Regions from separate parts of the Homo sapiens genome. Here all the other regions are linked to region 5. The links are contacts of gene promoters, found by promoter capture Hi-C in blood cells and fetal thymus (Javierre and others, 2016). All regions are on one chromosome and are shown on one strand. The core of a region is centred on a gene start or on the middle of the fragment in contact, and the rest is flanking DNA. Distances in the headings are between cores, read along the strand shown. Region 1 has its middle 270 kb from the start of PRDM2. Region 2 has its middle 230 kb from the start of PRDM2. Region 3 has its middle 210 kb from the start of PRDM2. Region 4 has its middle 250 kb from the start of PRDM2. Region 5 holds the start of LRRC38 (leucine rich repeat containing 38).

Evidence for each region. The method cuts DNA at HindIII sites, captures the fragments that hold promoters and counts their contacts. A CHiCAGO score of 5 or more calls a contact.
Region 1: a contact is called between a fragment that was not itself captured here and the fragment with the promoter of LRRC38 in region 5, in 4 of 17 cell types (total B cells, naive B cells, M2 macrophages and 1 more). The highest score is 7.6, in total B cells.
Region 2: a fragment that was not itself captured here is called in contact with the fragment with the promoter of LRRC38 in region 5 in 1 of 17 cell types (naive B cells); the score reaches 5.2 in naive B cells.
Region 3: a contact is called between a fragment that was not itself captured here and the fragment with the promoter of LRRC38 in region 5, in 1 of 17 cell types (total B cells). The highest score is 5.2, in total B cells.
Region 4: a fragment that was not itself captured here is called in contact with the fragment with the promoter of LRRC38 in region 5 in 3 of 17 cell types (naive B cells, M0 macrophages and M1 macrophages); the score reaches 6.1 in naive B cells.

What each region holds. Positions count from the first base shown.
Region 1 is chr1:13,972,269-13,976,541 of GRCh38, reverse strand. It overlaps a transcript of KAZN not described here. Among named protein-coding and RNA genes, the nearest start is that of PRDM2, 270 kb to the right of the region's middle. The HindIII fragment of the contact is 2,302 bases long and covers 199-2,500 here.
Region 2 is chr1:13,925,026-13,929,045 of GRCh38, reverse strand. It overlaps a transcript of KAZN not described here. Among named protein-coding and RNA genes, the nearest start is that of PRDM2, 230 kb to the right of the region's middle. The HindIII fragment of the contact is 437 bases long and covers 2,473-2,909 here.
Region 3 is chr1:13,904,079-13,908,390 of GRCh38, reverse strand. It overlaps a transcript of KAZN not described here. Among named protein-coding and RNA genes, the nearest start is that of PRDM2, 210 kb to the right of the region's middle. The HindIII fragment of the contact is 2,896 bases long and covers 1-2,887 here.
Region 4 is chr1:13,949,922-13,953,924 of GRCh38, reverse strand. It overlaps a transcript of KAZN not described here. Among named protein-coding and RNA genes, the nearest start is that of PRDM2, 250 kb to the right of the region's middle. The HindIII fragment of the contact is 4,854 bases long and covers 298-4,003 here.
Region 5 is chr1:13,511,283-13,515,753 of GRCh38, reverse strand. LRRC38 (leucine rich repeat containing 38) reads left to right here and starts at 1,751. Exons shown (of 2, transcript NM_001010847.2): 1 at 1,751-2,791. The coding sequence starts at 2,161. LOC107984918 (a long non-coding RNA gene) reads right to left here and starts at 2,534. Exons shown (of 3, transcript XR_001737896.2): 1 at 2,413-2,534; 2 at 1,210-1,463. The HindIII fragment of the contact is 1,959 bases long and covers 600-2,558 here.

The DNA of each region.
Region 1 (4,273 bases), core at 100-2,599, 460 kb before region 5:
ACTCCATCAGGCTGGCAAACAGGAACCTCAGCATCCTAGATATTTTTAATATGATGGCTTTCTTACTGCAATTTCTGCGGGGAATAATATATAGGGAAATAATGTTTCTCCTTTGTGATTACATTACCATATGGAGTAATTTTTCTTGACAAGGAGGTCATTTCATCTGATGAGTTCTTGAACAGTGAAATGGAAGCTTGGTTCTATGACAGCAAAGGACAGATTGACTTATTAAAACCGTTACATTACAGATTTTTATTAGTCGATTTCCCATTTGCTCTCTTTGAAAATCAAAAGCATGGATGCATTTGGAAAGTCCATCAGAAAATATTAAGAATAAAAATTAGACAGAATGGTCATTATTGTAAATGGAAAAATCATCTGAAAACTAAGGATTCTAGAGGCCAACTTTAAGAATTCTCACGAAGACATTATTTGGAGAGCAGAACAGATGGGGTATATTAATGGAAGAACCAGCCTCACAAGATAAACAGCCAAAGTTTTAGAAAAATCACCCAGGCATCTGAATTCAAGGCAGGGTGCAATGGACTGAACAAAATTAATTGTCCTAGACACCAAAAACACAGAGGAAAAGTGGCCTAAATCTAGGAGAGACTTCCAAAGCACTCTGAGAAATGTTGCTTTACTTTTTCATCAAAACACCTTTCAGAAGCTGGGTTTACTATGCGTGTACTCATATTTATTCCTTTTGATTCATTCATTCATTCATTCATTCAGCAAGCCTTGACTGACCCCATCAATGTGCCAGGACCACAAAAAACATCATGACGTGACTCGTGTTCCCGACTAGTTCATGATCTGGTAGGGGAGACAATTGAGTCAATACTATCTACCTGCCGGTGTGTTAAGTTTTGTTTAAGGAAATGTATGGCTCATTCATCCACTCATTTGATCAATATTTGATGAGTATCTATTCTGTTCTAAGTTTTTACTCAGCACTGGGGACTCAAGAGCATGTTTGGGTAGCTATAATTTAACAGACATATGATAAACAAATACATAGAGAAAGTCCAATTGTGTTTCAAGTTGCAAATTAGGCACATGCAGCTCTTTTCCGCTACACATGGTTCTAAGTGCAGAGGAAAGAGTCGAGCCTCTGAAGCATCACCTCTCAGCCCACTGATATCTGAAGCTCCTTTCTCACTCAAAGATACTCTTAGAATAAAGAGACCTTTTTTATATGCTTGGTATGGGCTGTGATGAAGTAACCAAGTGTTCTGAACAGTGGCCTTGAAGTGCCTCACAATCAAAGGCCTCCCCAGGCCCCACTCCTGCCTTCTGAGTAATGACAGAAAGTGCCAAATTCGATCCAAATACATGTGGAGGCAGGGGTGGGCAGCTGACTCAGCCACCACCCTGACACACTCTATGATCTGTCTTCCTACTGTAGGCTCTCAACGTAAAATCTCTAAGAGCAGAGTCCCCATCTGTTCTTATCACTCTACACCCAAAATCCAGCACAGTGCCTAGAACATGGAAAGTGATCAATAAATACATGTTAAATGAACAACTAGAAAACAACATAATTAGGATAAGAAAAGTGCTATAAAAATAAATAGATCATCTGATAGCAAATTACACTGTAGGGAAAGGGCGGATATAAAAAAGAGTTAACAAAGCAGTCTTGAAGGTCTGTGTGAGACCTCCAGGGTATCTAAGGTTTACAAGGTTGGCCCTTGGCTGGTGTAGTGGTTTTCTGGGGCTGCCATTACAAACTGCCACAAAATAGGTGGCTTAAAATAACAGAAATTGACTCCCACACCGTTCTGGAGGCTGGAAATCCCAAATCCAGCAGGACCTTGCTTCCTTTGCTTCCTCAGGGAGCTCTAGGGGAGAAACTGTCCCTTGCCTCTTTCAGCTTTTGGCAACCCCAGGCATTCCTTGACTTGTGGCAGCAGCATTCCCATCTCAGCCTCCATGGTCACATTGTCTTCTCCTCTTCTGTCTGCCAAATTGTTCCTTATAAGGGATACTTGTCTCTTATGAGGACACTTGTCACTGGATTTAGGTCCCACCCAGATAATCCAGGATGATGTCTTCATCCCAAGATCCTTAATTAATTACATCTGCAAAGACCCTTGTCCAAATAAGGCCACATTCACAGCTTCTGAGAATTCGATGTGGGCAGATCTTTAAAGGCACCATTTTTCAACTCACTACAGCTGGTATCTGCCAACTTACATCTTAAACAGTTCCCTACACTGATATAAACTTTCCCTAAATGATAAGAGTGGCCCATTATGCCTAGATTGTTTGTACAATGTGGTTTATTCTAGGCAGCTGCTTGTTCTTCTGGGTCTGGAGTTTTGGTACATGCTAGGCAGAGAAGATCTACATAACCAGCCCCCATTAAAAACACTGGCAGTGAATCTCTTACAAATTCCTGGTTTGATAACATTTCACACACATTGTCACAATCCAGTGTTGGAGGATTGACACACATCCCATGTGACTCCCCTGAGCGAAGCTCCTGGAAGCTTGTGCCTGGTTTCCACCAGACTTTGCCCCATGCATCTCTTTCTTTGGCTGATTTTGCCTTGGATCATCCTAGTCCTAGCTGTGAGTATGACGATATGCATAGTCTTAGGAATCCTCCTGGTGAACCAACAGACCTGTGGGTGGTCGTGGGGACACCCGATGCAGGGGTCTACTTAATGAGGCACAAGGGAAGTCTTCTCAGAGAGATGGTATTTGAGCTGAGACCCAGGATGGAGATCACACAGCCCATTTGTGATAGGGCTGGTGTTAAAGCTCAGTTTCCTCATCTGTAAAATGGGGATGTTAACAAAGTCTCAGCAGAAGATGCACGACACTGTCAAACTGGGTTATTGGAGGAAAATGCATAAAGGGATTAGGCACGAAGGTGTGGTCAGGATTTAAGAAAACCAACATAGGATGATGCAGTACCCTTGGGCTACAAACACTGGAAAGCTGGTAACACCGTAGGCCTGAAAGGCAAGTTGAGGGAGTTGTTACCTGAATCCAGAGAAGGCATTTGTATGAAGGGGACTGCCTGATCAGAGCCAGAGATCATGGCAACCTGGTGAGAAGCAAGCCAGGTAAATACGTGTTCTGACCTCACTCTCTTCTGATCCTCTACTCTTCTGCCAGTGGTTTCCACTGGTTAAGCCCAACTAGACACCTGAAAGTAAGGAAGACAGCTAATGAGGTCCACAGGGGTCAGCCTCCTAGGGAATAAAGCAGGGTGGAGAAGGGCAGACAGTGGATCTAGAGGGGAAAGGGGGAAATACCCAGCACAGTGGTGGTGATAGCCTCTACCTCCATGAGGTTGTTATGAAGTTTACATGAGATGATACATGTCAAGGGAGAACTTAGTACATCGTCTGGAATAATGTGAATGCCAGATCACTGTTTTATAGATGTTGATAATAAAGATGAAGAGGAAGAAGATGAAGGGGAGGAGGAAAAGGATGAAGAGAAGAATAAGGAGAAGGAAGACAAGGAGGAAAAGGTGGAGGGAAAATGAGAAAAAGAAAGAAGCCCCTTGAGAGCAAGAATATTTTTATTGTACCTAAAACAATTCCTGGCATGTGATAGACAATAAATATGTTAAATCATTGCATTATATAAGGGTCCTTATATCCAGATTCTAAACCTTGACTCAACACAGGGATTTGGTCTTTGAGACACAGAATAACTGGTGGGAGTCCTTAGTCAAAACCTTAATTTTACAGATGTTAACTGAAAGGAAATTACTTTCCCAAAGACACACAGTAAGTTCAAGCAAGAGCTGACAGCAAGATCCAGATGTTTTGATTCCAGTCCAGTTCTCTTTAAATACAGCCAGTCTGCCTCCAGGGATGTCCATCTGATAACCCCTACAATGTATCCAGCATCGAGGCTGAGAGATGGGTTGGTCCTCGCCTATCTCCAAAACTATCAGAGTAAAAGGCTGGGGGTCTTCCTTCCGGGCTCACCAGCAGCTTGTTAATCCTGGTGTTATAGAAATAATACAGACCCAATCATGGATCATAGAGCTCTGGATAGATATGTAGCTGCCTGTGCTCTGGCAGCACAGAACACTGGCTGTTGGGCTCATAGCAACTGACAGACAGTGGAACTCCTTTCCATCCCACAAGATGCTGGGAGCATCTTCACATCTCTGTTTATTTTTAAAAAGTAGGGTGGCATTCGGGAGGCAGAGCTTGCAATGAGCCAAGATAGCGCCACTGCACTCCGGCCTGGGTGAAAAAGCAAGACTGTGTCTCAAAAAAAAAAAAAAAGAAAAGAA
Region 2 (4,020 bases), core at 1,442-3,941, 410 kb before region 5:
CTTGAAGCTGAACTAGACCTTGGCCCTCAGCTGGCCCAGCTCTGGCTTCTCAAATCTATTTTACAAAGCAGAAAGCTACTAATTCCCAGGAGGAGAAGTCTCTCTAATTCACAACTTGTTTGAGCACACAACAAAGATTAGAATCTATCGCCTGTTAGAGCTCTTTCTCCAAAATTAGAGATCAGGGAAAAAAAAAAAAGATTTCTTCAAATGGAGCATTTTGTTTTTCACTCCAAGGCATGTACTCAGCAAAATTAAAGATCAAAATATTTTGTGAAAAGGCAATGCTTTAAAGAATTCTCCTACCTAGAAGTTACTCTTTCTTTCCCCAAAATATGCCCATGTATGCTTCTGACCATCATCCCCATGCAGAGCCTTGCTGGATCAATATTTTATTCAGGACAAAAATCATGTCCTGAATTTTTTATTATGTTAATCACACATTGTACAGGCAACAGTGTCTTGGGAATAGTGAGTTTCTAAACTCTACTTTCCAACTCATTTTCTCCTGATTTGCAATTCAGAAAACTAGTGACAAGCATGATTTCAGAAGCCATACTGATGTTGTGTGACCTTGGGCAAGTCACTTACCCTTTCTAAGCTTCAGTGTTAACAGAACAATAAGAAAAGAAAAATAGGAATTCAGGGAGATAATACACAGAGTGCCAGGTATATAACAAGTTCTCAGAGAAGCTGTTACTATGGTTACAGTTGTCATCATCAATGTCACCACTGTCATCATCATCATCATACATGATCCAGAAGGACCCAGCAAAAGGAAGTAACACAACGGGATCTCCACCCAAGTTTCTTAACTATATGAGAAAGCACTTTCAGGAGAACCCCAGGTATGGCACATTTTTAAAGTCACAGGCTATTAGTTTACAGGAACCTGATCTTCTCCGCAAAACCTGAGCAATGAAATTTCTGACCACTGCATACAAACACACCCTCTGCTTCCTCCAGTATGTGTAGCTTAGCTCTGTGGTTAACAGTTTCAGCTCTGAAATTGGATGGAGCCAAGCTGGAATTTCACCTCTGCCATTGACTCGGCTCTCTTTTCTGTTCCTTGAACCCACTGCCAGGCTTGTTCCCACCATAGAATCTTTGCAGGGGCCCTGCCCCTGCCTGGGATGCCCTCCTCCTTGATGTTCATGTGACCATATCTTTTCCATCACTCAGGTCTCAGCCCAAATGTGGCCCCTTGCAGGGCAGCCTCTGAGCACCCTGTACTTGTGTCTCTTCCGCTCCACACATCCAGTTTCCTCTCTGTTTCAGTTGCTATGCGACCTTCTAAATATCAGAATATGGATCTAGCTTTTGGATTCCCACTAAGATGCAAGCTTCTTGGGGCAGGAAACTTCTCCATCCTGCATCCACTGTATTTTCCATGCCTAAAAACATGCCTGGCTCAAAAGAGATCCTCCACCAAGAGCCACTGAATCAAAGAATGCAACAGTACCATTGGGATTTGAACATAGGTCCAAAGTGGATAAAAGTGAAGTTGGGATTTGGACATAGGTCTGCCTGGGACACAGACCAAACTCCTAACCCACCTCTGATGGTTCTTTGCCCAGCTATTCCTAACCTTGTCTTCTGATGTGATGAGCAGAAAAAAATACTTCCTCCTGCTCAAACCCTTTTAGGTGTCTGTAAACAGCTCCCAGGCCCCATTTTAAGCCCTCTCTGTAATGCCCCACTGTGCTCAGCTCTGTTTTATACAGAAAGTCTTCCAAACCTGCTTCAGGGTCCCTGTGTGACCTTCTAGTTCCTCAGTGTCTTTCTTCTCCAACTGCACTAGGACCAGGTTCATTCCAGGGAAGACACAGGCACCTTGATATTGTACTTCTATTAACAAAACCCAGGACTGCATTATTATGATCTTAAAAGATTTCTGAAAGGGCTTTATAGAACACGGAAATTGGGTCACACACAAAAACAAGAATCCTGCTTGATGAAACTGAAAATGTGACATCTCTTTTTTAGCATAGCTGCCACGCTACAATGACAGAATCTTGCATGAGGGTTTTCATGGAAAACAAAGGGCCGAGTGACATGGGATTTTAGGCACTTTACGACAAATGCATATTTAAAACACATATTTTTGCAGGTTTTTTTCTTTGAGCACCATAGCAAGGTTAACCTTTGAAAGGGAGCAAAAATCATAGATGATAAATGTTTCTTGTCTCCCTAGCTATTCCCTTTGAAGCCCTAACTTGGAAAAATAGCAAATATGGAGGATGCTATTTTAACTGTCACCCCAGTATCAAATATGATATGTCACTCCAGCCAGCATTTTGTCACCTTAAGATACTGATTTGTGCTTGGGAAAATTTACAGCCATTTATGGCTGTCATGCACTGAAGTTCCCAGGAGATTTTTTTTTTTTTTTTAACTCTTAAAGATAAATCTTCCTTTCTTATTTTCATTGCCTGGTTATTTTTACTCATTAATAACAAGGACCTGTAAGCTTCACTGTAATCAGGACCCAATGTCACTGGCTACACGTGTACATGCCTTTGTGCAAAGGGGACTTGAAAATAGGGAAAAGGCAGGGGAAATGTGGGAGGAAGCCATCGGGTGACTCAGAAACACAAGTGGAGACTGTTCATTGCTTCATTCTTGTCCTAAACATGGAATTCGAAAATTTCAGGGTAAGAAAAGAAAGCACCTCCAGCTCACATAGGCAGAGTTGCCACCACACTAAGAGTGAGCCCCTATTCTCCCAGCAGGGAGGTGCAGTGTTCACTGGTGGTCTCAGCCAGCCAGGGCAGACAGCCAGCCTGGTGTGTCCTAGTCCTGCCCACTCTGGGTAGTAACAGCACGGTGAGCCAGGGCATAGGGAAGCATGAAGTGCTGTCGGAGTCAGCAAGACCCCAACTCAGTTTGGGAGAGAATTGGTGAAAGCTTCCTAGGAGAAGTGACTCATTAGTGAAGACTCAAATGAGAACTAGATCCTTTGAAATGAAAAAAAACAAAGGGAGAGAGAAACCATTATCAAAACCAAATCACGCTCTGTCCCCCAACCACCCCATATGTGCCCCTCCCAAGTCTCTACCATCTCAGTCAATGGCCACTCCATCCTATGGGCCACCCAGGGGAGACCCTCATGGTCATTCACTCTTCTGCCCTCACTCCCCAACTTCAATCATCAGCAAATCCTCCAAGAACTATTTTTGAAATGGATCCCAACTCTATTTGCAACTCCCAGTGCTTGAGTCCAATTCATGGTCACACCCACTCTTCCCAACCTGGACTCTCTGCCTCTGTCCTCTAGTGCTTATGGTCCATTTTCAACCGCTGGCCAGAGAGCTCCTTGAACTTGTATGTCAGTCAAGGTACTTCTGCATTCCCAGCTTCCCCTTTCACCCATAACAAAATCTAAATTCCCTTCAACAGTCTACAAGGTCCCAAGTGATCTCCATAGCCTACCCCAGCTCAGTGCCTCTCGGGCCTCACTTCCTGCTATTTTCTCCTCATTCATTGCCTACCGGGACATTCCTTAATCTATCGCAGGGTCTTTAGACCTCCCATCCCATCTGCCTGGAGCACCATCTCCCAGGTACTCACATCTCTTTCAGATCTTTGCCCAAAAGTCACTGCCACATTGAGGCCTTTTCCAACCACCCATACTCCCATCCCCCTTTGACACTTTATTTAGCTCTCACAGATAAGAACATCCTTTCAACATAACCACATTAGATTATCCTGCCAAGTGGTGACTCTTTCAAAACTATGGCAAAGTATAAAGAACTATACCAGCCATAAAAAGGAATAAAGCACTGATACATGCAGGAACACGGATTGTATCTGAAATTACTCGAAAACATTAAGCAAAGTGCAAGACGCCAGTCACAAAAAGACCACGTAATCTATGATCCCATCGCTGTGAAATGTCCAGAATAGATAAATACATAGAAACAGAAAGCAGATGAGTGGTCGCCCGGGGTGGAAGGAATCTGGGGATATGGAGTGGGTGAGACCTAAAGTGTATGGGGTTCTATGTGAGCTGATAAAAAT
Region 3 (4,312 bases), core at 190-2,689, 390 kb before region 5:
AGCAATAGCTTTGTGCAAGAAGGCGTGGACTGCTTTGAAACCCCCTAGCTTTCTCATGACCTCTCTCATTACCCTCAAAGGCAAGTGGCTGGTCCTTCATGCTAGAGCAGGCAAGAGAGTCTTTCTAAACCACAAGACAATGTGTTGATGCTGCCTGTTTCTCATGGGCAGTCCAGCTTTCTGAATAACCCCAGCTACAGGCTTTCTGATGTAACTAAAAATAAACCACGTCTTCAGTATGAAACAAAGTCCAGGAATTCTGTTTCAAGTAGAAAAATGGACTGCCACAATGTGGCTGGCACTTTCTTTAAATTATTAAGTTCCTGCAGGCCAGCTGACAGCAAATGTTCTCTTTGCCTTGTCATCTATTCCATCTCCTGCTACCACTGCTAATCATATTATAAATTTGTGCACCAGTATTGCTGTCTTCAGACCCCAATAATTCTCAGAGAATCAGCTCTTGTTTAGGACAAGCACATTCTCTTTTTCTCTACGAACTACACAGTCTTATAACCTCACCCAACAGGGGCACAAGAAGTATCATCCAAGCCAAAAAAAATGTTGCGGTGGGAGAAGTTACTCCCAAACCCATCCAAAAATGTCTCATGGGGAGACTGAGCTTTCATGAGAAGCCAGTCTGAAGGTTGCCAGACTAATTCAGCCTTATGTTTCCCAGAAAATATTTTGAAACTGGGTACACATAGCATACATTTGGGTTGTTTGTGGAAGGGCTATTGGACCAGGAGATAACATCAGTGGCTCCAGGGACTGGGTTACCTTTAGAATTTCCTCCTGGATAAGAGAGCTTGGACCTGAGAGTAACAGAGACCAGATAATGCCAGCCTAGTTCATTCCAAGACCCCCCATTCCCACCCACCCAACACACACACACACAGCCTCATACACACCCCTCAAAGGCCTTGCCTTAAATCCTGTCACTCATTCTGCCAGGCCTGGGCCCATACCCCGGGGCTGGGGTCTTCTCTACCACTTCCTGCTATTAAACTGAATTTAGGTCCTAGCTCCCACCCTGCCAAGCATCCTGGCACAGTCCCCAGGGGCCACTCCACCTCACTATAGGGAGACATTCGCCAACTGATCCCTAATACTGGCTTGAGAGGCACAAAATGTGTTTCCAGCCTTCAGTGGGACTCTAGTCCTGGAGGGGGTGCCCTGTGGTGCTGGAAGATTCTATTGCATGGTGGAGATACCTTCTCAGGGGAAATCCAGCTGCAAAAACACTTTTCATCAAGGTTTTAGCCATTCACATTAACTGAAGACAGAGACACCACATCAAAAGAGGCAGGAACAAAAATCACCCACATAGATATTTCTTTTCTCTGAGCTAATAGAACAAGAAGCCCACCATAACCACTCCACGCATTACCTGGAGACACTGGGTATTTCACTTTGCAATGGCCTTTGCACAGGCGGGAAGCCTTACTTCCCGAAGAATCCCAACAAGCATGACACAGTCTCTTGGTCTGTTTGCCTGACTGTCGCTAGGAATGAAGATGTGCCCCAGAATGGAATTTTCAGGAATGCATTCGTCTCTCTCCCATGGTGGCATCTGCAGCATAGCATGCTGTGTAATAATGGTCATTTCTGGTCCTGGCCCTGCTCTGGTTTTGGCCACACCCAGTTGGCACAGAGTGAGTCCCTGAGACAGTCCCAGGTGAATGTCTTGTCCAGTGTCTGAGGCAAAGGGGATAATAAGAAACAGACTTAAGGTCAGTTCTGGCTGTCAGAATGGAAGACATTAAAGGTCAAAGGAGAGCAGTAAACCAAGGTCGATCACACATATATGGAAGCCAAGAGACAAAGTTAGGCCAGAAGAACGGGAAGAGGCAGACTGGAAACCTGGGCCGGTCCAGCCCAGGCAGCAGCATCTTCTCAGCAGTAGTACAGCCTTTCTGCCCCACAGGGTTTTAGAAGCATCATTTCCTCACACCTATAAGCACCTACGCCTCAACATCTCCAACTCCTGCCTCTCCGAAAACGAAGCCCGCCCCCAGGAGGCTCTGTATTTCTCTCTCCAGCCTGGAGGTTGTTTGCTCTATTTCTTTTTCAGGGAGTTAGTATGGTAGACTCAGGGGAAAGTCTATAAAACATTTGAAAATACAATAGGCATCCTTAGAAATACAAAACTGAACTCTTAAAGTAACAGAAATGTACTGTAGTGGGCTGAAAATGCCCCCTGCAAAAGACATTTACATCCTAATCCCTGGAACTTGTAAATGTTATGTTATTTGGGACAAGGGTCTCTTTTTTCAAATGATGTGATTGAAGCTAAGAATCTAGTAATGGGGAGATTATCCTGGATTATCCGAGTGGGCTCTAATTGCCATCACAAGCGTCCTTAGAAGAGAGAGTCAGAGGGAGATCACATACACAGATGAGAAGGAGGAGCTGGGTAACCATGGAGAGAGATTGGCGCTCCCAGAAGGAACTCAGGTCTTTTGAGACCTTGATTTCAGTCCAGAGATACTGATTTTGGATTTCTGGCCTGCGGAACAATGAGATAATATGTTTCTGTCGTTTTAAGTCACCGAGGTTGTGGTAATTTGTTATAATGGCTATAGGAAATTAATACATCCACAAAACAAACTAACAAAAAAAAATTACAAAACTGAAAACCAGAGTGATAGCACACACTAAGATTTTGGCTGTTCGGAGGCAATTGCTTATCTTGTAAAATGAATGCTAGAGTTTTATTAGCCACATGGGATAGATGGCAAGGTTTTAGGTTATGCTGGGATAGAGGAATTAGAACTACAATACTTTCCACACACATATTCACACACCAGCTATCTTAGAGGGCTCGACATCAGGGAAGATGAGACTTGGATGTGGGTCCTGAACACAGGCACGGGGAGGTAAGAAAGCTTGTCTGCCTCAGTCTGAGTCCTGGATTGAGAGGGGTTGAGAGTGATCTCCCTTAATACCTCATTACTTCAAGCTTACCCTCATATGAGTTGGGGTTCAAATTTATACTACCAGGGAATGTATGGAAATATCCAGCCTGGAAATTAACATTACCTACGGTAATAACATCTCACAGATAAAATTCCTAGAATAAGCTCAAAATCCAATCTTGCAAAGTGCATGAGGTAATAAGCTATCTTAGACATGAGTCAACAGAAAAGCAGAAGAAATGTACTCAGGAGTGCCAGAATTGGATTATAAAATTCCTTTATCAGATAAGTATTAATTTTAAATGATTAAATAAATAAAACATATGATCAAGAGCAAGAGAGACAAAGATTATCTTAAAAAATAATACCTGGGAGATTTGAAAACTATTCAATGAGAACTTCTAGAGGTTAAAAAAAGACATTCAATGAAAAATGAATTGCCTGAGTTCAGCTGAAGATTAGACACAGCTAGAAAGAAAATTAATGAACCAGAAGATAGTTTTTAAAGTCATTATCCAGAATGCAACAGAGAGACAAAGATGGAAAATATGAAAAAGAGTTCAAATTGAGAAGTCTAACACAAGTCACAAAGGAATTTCTAAAGGAGGGATAGAAAGAATGGGAATCAGTGTTCAAAGAAATAAGTAACTGAACATGAGTTACATGATTTGCATCTGAGATGCAAATCCTCAGATCTGAGAAGCACAAACCCCAGATAGGATAAATAAAATTAGACCTACCCCTAGCTACACTGTAGTGAAACTACAGAGCTTCCAGGACAAAGACTTTCAAAGCAAATCCATAGAAAAGAGAGATCACCTACAGAGAAATGACCCCAAAATCAAAGACCAACAGCAACAGCAGGAACCAGAAACAGAGGAACATCCTTTCCAAAATGTTGAGAGAAAATAACTCAACTTAGAAATCTATATCCAGCTGACATTATCCAGTAACAGTAGCCAAAATAAAACTAAACATTCTAGAGACCCAGCTGTGGAGGCTTTGCTGTAGCTTGTCCTGGCCTCCAGTGCAGATTGGTCTTGATCATGGATGATCATCTCAGCTGTGACTGGCCTGATCCCTACAACCCAACTTCTCCAACCTGGGAGTTCTCCCAGCAATACTTTCTGCTTAACAGGCCACAGGGTGTTGCCTATTAATGGAAGGGAGGAGGCATGAGGGGTTCCCTTCCTGAGATACTATTCCTTTTCACCTGTCTTAGAAGTGGCTATTTCCTCTGTGCTGAGGAAGGTGCATGCTGGCCTCCAGCATCCCAGGGCACCTCCTCGCCCGGCCTTCTGCCCCTCCATCCTCTGCTCCCTTGCCCTAGTCCTTCTTTGGATCCCTCTACCCAGCCTTTCAGACAACTGCTCCATGTTAAGCACTGATGACATTGT
Region 4 (4,003 bases), core at 1,475-3,974, 440 kb before region 5:
TTAGAATTAAGGGATTTCAACTTTAGAAATTTTGATCTTCCAGGATTTCAATATTCAGGAAAATGACATTTGGAATTTTGTCTTTTGAGATTATGATTGGTACCAATCTGGTGGCCACCATATTGGATGGTGCAACTCTAACAAGAGCTTTAGAAGAAAATGATTAGAATGTAAAAAACAAGCTAAAGACATGAATCTTCAGATTAAAAGAGTCCACCACGCTCGTGAAAATAGACCCATATTTAGAAATACAGTAGTGAACTTTCAGAACAAATTAAAAAGAAAACTCTAAAAGCTTCCAGAGAAGAAAAAAAAGAAAGAAAGAAAGGGTTACTAACATAGAAATGAGAATCAAATTGAGATCAGAACTATCATTAGCAACACTAAATGCTAGAAGAAAAGGGCTGGTGGGAGAAATTTCTGAGAACACGTTATTTTGGATCAGGAATTCTTTAATCAGACAAACAACCATTCAATTTTGAGGTGAAGATAAAACTTGGACATGGAACTCACTCAGTTCATCCTGAGGTCCTTCATAATGATCTTTGCAAAAGCCTCTCTCCCGTAGTCAGGCTTAGTGCAGAACCAAGATTGACTTCTACAGCATGAAGTACTCCACGGGCCAAAAAGTATCTCCAGATTCTGAGAGGTGTTACTTTAGACCATTCCAGGCCCTGAGAAGTAGCCTAACTCCTCCCTGAGTCAATAAAGCCAAAATTCACCTCCAACATGTAAGGGGTGAGAGGAGAGATAAGATAGTGCCTGGAAGAACTGCGGAAGCTCTGATCCTCCCAGGCCAATTGTCTATTGAATTCGGGGGCCGTTCTGTAGTTCCCACCACAGCCTGTTCTGTTGCTTCTACTTGAATACCTCTAACCACAGGTTTCTCAATACTCCAGGGCAGCCCATTCTGTTGATCATCAGGCAGCTTTGGCTGTTCGAATATCTTTTATGATGAGCTAAAAATGTATCTCCCTATATCTTAGGAAATAAAGAATCATATAACTAGGAGGAAAATCATAGAGAACTCTGGTTCAGTTTCCTCATTTTAAAGGCGACTAAGTGGAGATCCAGAGAGGGATAGGGACATCCCAAGGTCACACAGCACAATTGTGGTCCAGCTGATACTACTGGTATTTGAGCTCCGGCTGGCCAGTGGCCTTGCAACATGAGGAGCTTTCCTGGTGATCTGGCCAGGGGGACCTTTCAATGTCATGCGTCTGTGTGCACACAGGTTGACTTTATAAGGTGTTCTGAAAGCGATCGGGGGTTTATAACAGTTCCCAGAAGACCCTGCCCCAGCTTGCTGCTGTTTGTTCTCTCTCCTCTTTAAAAGGAACCAGCACAGGGCCCAAGAAGTAACCACAACTCCTCCCTGAGTCAATAAAGCCAAAATTCACCTCCATGTAAGGGGTGAGAGGAGAGATAAGATAGTGCCTAGAAGAATTGCGAAGCTCTGAGCCTCCCAGGCCAATTGTCCAGCCCTGTGCTGGCCATTCTGTTTCATCCTATCATCCCAAATCAATCCAAAAGAGCAGATATTGATATTATTATTATTATTATTATTATTATTATTATTATTATTATTATCTCCATTTTATACCTAAGACTCCAAGCAGTGAAGTGGCTTGTCCAAATATTCAGCATGACATGACAACATCCTACAGTGTGTAAGACCACATGAGTCATCTCCAAACCAGAACCCTTTTGAGAGTAATTCAATTTAGAAGACAAAAAGGCAGCCCAGTAAATAATATTAATAACAAATAAAGTAGAAGCTCTAGGGAGTCCTGAAACCCCTTTTCCTGCTCAAATAAGAAGCTGCTAAAAGAAAGGAGATTATGCAACAAATAGTCCTCAAACAATCAACAGCTCCCATAGGCCTGCAGGGATCTGGGTTAAGACACCACCCTTTCTTTACTGCAAACAGGCCTGACCTGGTTCAAGATTTCCCTGGGAAACTGTTACTAAAACTACCCAACTGATAATAAATAGCACAGCTAGGGCAGGCCAGATAACCACCAAGGCAACAGCACTGTGGGTCATACCTTGGCATCATGTGTCTTAAGGCACTTTTACTTGAGAGATTTTTATAAAAGCAGAAAGTGGGTGGTAAGGGGGTGGGAATCCATCTATGTCTGTATGGCTTGCCTGGACTTAGAGAAACACAAAGAGCATGATCATCATGGACAGCAACCCTGTGCTGGCCATTCTGTTTCATCCTATCATCCCAAATCAACCCAGAAGAGCAGATATTATTATTATTATTATTATTATTATTATTATTATTATTATTATTATCTCCATTTTAGAGCTAAGATTCTAAGCAGTGAAGTGGCTTGTCCAAATATTCAGCAAGACATAACAACACCCTACAGTGTGTAAGACCACGTGAGTCATCTCCAAACCAGAACCCTTTTGAGAATAAAGGGGACATTAGTAATAATTCTTCTGGGATGACAGGCATACTTTGGGGCCATCCTGAGCTCACCAGGAAGTGTGGTCCCCGAACCATGAGCCAGGCATGGGTCTAAGTGCTTTGCGTGGACTAGCTCATCTTATCCTCATCTACCCTTATCCCCATTTCACAGATGGGAAAGTCAAGCCACACAGCTGTGAAGTGGTAGATCCAGATCCAGGATTTGAACTTGGATAGGCTAACTCCAGGTCCCATGTCCCTTACCACACTATGCCTTGCTGCCTCTCCGGGAGCCAGGATGTTCACTCAAACATGCTGACCCCCAACACTGTGCACTGGGCACACCCACAGTGTCTCCTCTCTAAAGTCTTTGCTCAAAGAATCTCTACCTGACAATGCAATGGTATCGCCTGCAAATTCCAAATCCTTAATACAGGGCTGGGTATTAGCCAAAGAAAAAAGGCTGAAAGGAAGAGGAATCCCATGGACTCCAGGCAGGGTCATTTCCCAACAAGACCAGAAACATCCCGTTCTATCTTCTCCTTTGACAGTTTCCCGAGAACTGCAACACTATCACATCTTTTGGGAAGGCGATTCCTTCCTTTGTATACCTATTTAACACACAGTACTGGATAGACGACCTTGCCCCTGAAACGCCCCAAGAGGCAGCCAGTGGGAACTGCATCCTTGAACCCCCTTGACCTCTAGCTGCCCTGTGGGCTCAGTCAATGGGAGGCACATAGAGAAGTCAAAGAATGAGTGGCTGATGAGGTTGGGGTATTCGTTCCTCTGCTCTCTCCAGGCCGCAGCTCCTTCTAGGCAGCCCTTCCCTCTCCTGGTCTGCTCAGGCCTGAGGGTTATAATAACTCCTGCAGTCCGACGCTGCCTTTGTAAGCTGTATCTTTACTAAAAATCCCAATTTGAACACATCAACTACTACCTGCCAGATGCTGTTTCCTGATAGTCTAGTAAGGAAGCCCACAAGCAAGTAGATAACTCAGACAACTCATTCAAAAAATATTTTGAACATGAACTATTTGCCAGGCAGTACACTGAACGCTGGGGATATACAATAAGGAGAAACAGACACAGTCCTTGTCCTCATGGAGCTGACAGTCTGATAGGAGAGACCATCAAATCCCAGAAATGGGTACAAAAGGACAGCTGGAAGTGCTCTGTGGGGGCAATGTGGGATGCCAGAAGAGGTGACCTGGAAGGGCACTGGCCTGGCCAGGGAGGTCTGGAAGGCATAAGGGACACCAAGGAAGCATTGTGCAGGACCATCGGAGGAGGCGGGGACAGAGAAAAACCTGGGCACCCAATGACAAAGGCCAAGAGGGAGGAAGTGCAGCCCAAACAAAGCAGCAGGTGCATGAAGCAAAGGAAGAGGCCTGGGAGGGAGCAAGGCTCAGGGAGCAGGCTCAGCCCTGGGGTGTGGGGATGTGTTGGAAGAGGGGGCTGCAGAGCAAGGCAGGGGCGGGATCTGGAAGGCCCCTACCCACCATTCCAAGGCCTTTCAATCTTACTCGGACCCAGTGTCTCCAAATCTTAGCCATGAAGTTCCTCCTCACATCAAACTCAGTC
Region 5 (4,471 bases), core at 502-3,001:
GCTAGTGGTGGGGCCAGGACCAGACCCAGGGTCTTGATTCATATAGGTCAGTGCTCCAGCCAACCAGACCACTTGGCAGGGAGGGCTTGTGTACACACCCAGACATACAGACACGCGGGCATGCACGTGCAAGATGGCAGCCCAACCAAATGCGGGTGTCATGAAACCATGATGCTAAGGGCTCAAACCAGTAATAGGTTCCCCTCAGTACAGGAGGGAGCAGGCAGAACCAAGCCTGAGATTGGCAGAGTGCAACAGTTCGGTTCAGGCTGCTTTTGCAGAGTTGCAAGGGTGGGAGATGTGTTTATTCTGCCACCTGCCTGCACTTTGTGTGACTCTTCAATAATTTATACATCATTTATGTAGGCAGAAGCATTTTCATCCACTCTGGGAGCATTCAGACCACTCCTCCCGACACCTGCCTCTTCAAGAGCATGAGACTGGGGTGGGGAAGCTGAGCCCTTGAAGTTGGGGATGGCAATGGCAAATTGGGCACCCTGGGAGAGTGGAGACAGAGACGGAGAACTGAGGGAGGTCTGGCTTAGTGGCCTGGAATGTAAGTAGGGGAAAAGCTGCAGGACTCCAGGTGCCTCAAAGCTTCCCCCTGGGTCTCCCCCGCCTCTTCCCCAGGGCTCCTGCAAATATGCTCATCTGTTGAGCCCTTGGCTCCATCCCAGGGGATCAGTTTTTTCATCCCATGGCTCAGAGGCATCAAGTCGGCCTGTACCTTTGGAAGAAGGCCGAGGGCTTAGCTTTATGGCTTCAGAATCCGAGGCTCCACCAATCCCCAGCATGGCCAGGGGCCAGGGAAGGGTCTCTGGGAGCCTGCTGCCCAACAGCTGTTCCCTGGGTTATTTTGGTCTAGTGGGAGTCTGTCAATTCTAGGGCATTTGGACCAAAATAGCCAACAGCGGGACAATCTCTTGGTAGCTCTGTGGGGACCCCTCCCCATATAGAAGTTTCTAGAATGAGGTGGGACAGAAAGAAAGGAGTTTGGCATCGGGGTGGTGAAGAGGGAATTTTCCTGCCAGTGTCAGAGGCTGACATCAGCATTTCCTCACTGTCCTTTCATCTCAGCCTTGGCACGTTCCTGACTGCCTCCCTAGGCTATCCAAGGTGGGGTTTTGAGGGGGAGAGAGGAAAAGATAATTTTTGAACTTTGTTCTTGACTTCTTGGTCCTCCCCCAAAGCTGATGAGATATATATTACCTTTTTCCATTTCACAAATGGAGCTACCAGGTCCACAGAGGCAGAGGTACTGGTCTGAGGCCACACAGCTTGGAAGCCAGGCCTGGTGACTCCAGGCCTCAGAGCCTCAGCAGCTGGACCTCTCAGACCAGCAGCTGATCCTTGCATGGATGCCAGTTCCATCCAGAAGTTCGGGGCCGGCATGGAAAGTGCTGACTGGCCCTGCAGGCCACAGCGGGGGCCCTGGCAGCCACTTGCCTCGCTCACCCTCCAGCCTAAGATGGTTCAAGTGCAGGTGGGGGAGGGAAGAGGGAAGACCAGTCACTCACTCTCTCCCCTTGGAACCCCGCCCAAATTCAGACCAGCAGACCCTGGCGCGGCACCCGAGAACCTGCAGGGATTGCCCCCGGAGCAGAGTCAGAGTGACCCAGGTCCCACTCCCTTTGGCGACATAGGGTGGCGTGCAGGGAGCGTGCTTTGGCACCAGGCGGGCGCGAGGGGGCAGGGCGCACGCCCGGGACACGCCTTAGGGAAACCGCTCCTGGGCTTGGTAGCTGAACTTAGACGTCGAGTGCAGCCCGCCCGGTGCGCGCGGCGTCTTACTGCCAGATCTCGGAAATCAGCTGCCAGGGTGGGGCCGCGTTTTGGCGACGGCCACTCGGCCACCCCTGCCGCTCCCGCCTCTCCCAAGAGATTTTTCTAGCGGGTTAATTTCCTGTCCGGGTAAACCCTTTGGTGAGTCCCTCGCCCCTCCCTCCCCGCCCCTCCCCTCTCCATCCCTGCTGTCCCGGCTCCCCAGTCCGTCCGCGCCGCGCTCCATCGCCCCCGCACGCCCGGGCGCACGCCCTCCCCGCCCGGGCCGCCCTCTGGCTCCCCGCGCCCGGCAGCCAGTGCCTCACCGCGCCGTCCCGCGCCAGGGCTCGCTCCGAGAGCCGCTTCCTTCTCGCCGCGGCCGGCGCGGGCCCCCCGGCCATGCGCCCCCGAGCCCCAGCCTGCGCCGCCGCGGCGCTCGGGCTCTGCAGCCTTCTGCTGCTGCTCGCGCCCGGGCACGCGTGCCCCGCGGGCTGCGCCTGCACCGACCCGCACACCGTGGACTGCCGCGACCGCGGGCTGCCCAGCGTGCCAGACCCTTTCCCCCTGGACGTGCGCAAGCTGCTGGTGGCCGGCAACCGCATCCAGCGGATCCCCGAGGACTTCTTCATCTTCTACGGCGACCTGGTCTACCTGGACTTCAGGAACAACTCGCTGCGCTCGCTGGAGGAGGGCACGTTCAGCGGCTCGGCCAAGCTCGTGTTCCTCGACCTCAGCTACAACAACTTGACCCAGCTGGGCGCCGGCGCCTTCCGCTCGGCCGGGAGGCTGGTGAAGCTTAGCCTGGCTAACAACAACCTGGTGGGCGTGCACGAGGACGCCTTCGAGACCCTGGAGTCGCTGCAGGTGCTGGAGCTCAACGACAACAACCTGCGCAGCCTCAGCGTGGCCGCCCTGGCCGCGCTGCCCGCGCTGCGCTCCCTGCGTCTGGACGGGAACCCCTGGCTGTGCGACTGTGACTTCGCCCACCTCTTCTCCTGGATCCAGGAGAACGCATCCAAACTGCCCAAAGGTGAGCCGAGCCGGCTAGGCTGGGGGAGGGAGGGAGGGGGGCAGGGAGAGGCCACCCCAGACCCCAGTCTGGGTGGGAGGAGCCGTGGGTTGAGTTTGGAAGAGGAGGCTTGGGGGATCCTGAACTTTTCCTGGGTCTCTGCTGGGGAAGTGGGTGGAGAGGGACGCATCTGGAATTCTTTGGAGTTTCTGAACCCTGAGGCTGTACTTCTTCCCCTGTTTCTCCAGTAACTCACTTTACCAAGTTAGGGACCTTCCCCTTCTCGGGATGCCCAGGATCATCTCCCTGGGCTTTGGGTCCTAGGACTGGCGGGTGTGGATTACTTATGCGTCCCTGGTAAGCGGAATGCAGCCTACTCTATGGGAAACGGCCGTATTCTCAGTACCGTGCACGGGGAGTCAGCCAGTTCCAAGGGCTCTCCAGCAGCTTCCCGAGCCTAACCTGGCCTCTCAGCTTCTCAGCTCCAGTTTGCTCTTCTGTCTAATATGGGTGAGGAAGATTTCTGATGTGGAATAATGGCAGCCCATTAAGAGCCAATGATGCAGTAATGATTTGTAGTTCTCTGTGGCTTTTCAGCCAGATGTGAAAAAGCTGAACCAAAATGTAGAGGGCTGGTGCCCCCTTTGCTTTCCTGGTGCACGCTTCCAATGGCGGCGTGGGCATAAAAACTCACTTGGCAGATGGGAACACCAGGGCGGAGGGAGTTAAGGGGCTCCATTAAGGCCCGCAGGAAGGGAGCACGGGTGGAGCTGAGAAGGAGGGGACCCCAGCATCCACAGGGATGAGCACCCAGAGTGAGGAGGCAGGTGGCAGGTGGGTGTCCTTCCCCCAAGTGGATTCCAGCCTCCCACTTGTGACCCTGTGAGCACCAGTGCCCGCAGTGACCTCTCAGAGCTGAACTCTGCCTCCTGCCTTGCTCCCAAGATTTCAGCAGAATTGGGACCACAGCTGCAAGGCGCACATCATCAAAGGTGACATACATGCAGATTTAGCTTCAGAATATTTTTTTTTCCATTTACGGAGAAATCAAGGATGCTGTTCATCTGTGTGCTGAACTCCTGCATTCATATCTTCATTCCCAACTGTCATCAAACACACCCCATGCTTCGGGGTGCTCACTCTTCAGCAAATGCAGGCCCCTGAGCCATCACTTTCAGCCCAGGCTGGCTGAAATTCCTAAAACGATCTGGCCTGCAGGGTGCAGAGTCCCCACCTTTAAACTTTGTCCTCATCCACTTGTCTGGTTTCCCAGACCCTGCCCACCAGTAGACTCGGTCCTGGAGACAGGAGTGACCGGATGAAAAGCTCATGGTGGGATGGGGTACACCTCGGTTCTGCTTGCTTCTGCCTTTCCTTTTCAGTGGGGTTGGCACCATTCACCCCTGTTGTTGGTTGGGTTGGTTTATTGGCTCCAGTTGTCTTCCAGGTGAAGGCAAGGTTTTATGAAGTCAGGAGCTGTGGGTTTGTCTCAGTTCTGCCATGGTGACTGTGACCTTGAACAGGCCACTTGTCCCATTTGGGCCTCAGTTTCCTCATCTCTAGAATTCTTGCGTTGACCTCTGAGATCTCCAAAGAGCCCTGGATTTGGAATCTGAAGACATGGATTTAAGTCCTGGCCTAAAATCTGGGGGACTCTGGGTGGGTCACTCCAGTTTTTTAAGCTTCACCTTTCCCTTGAGT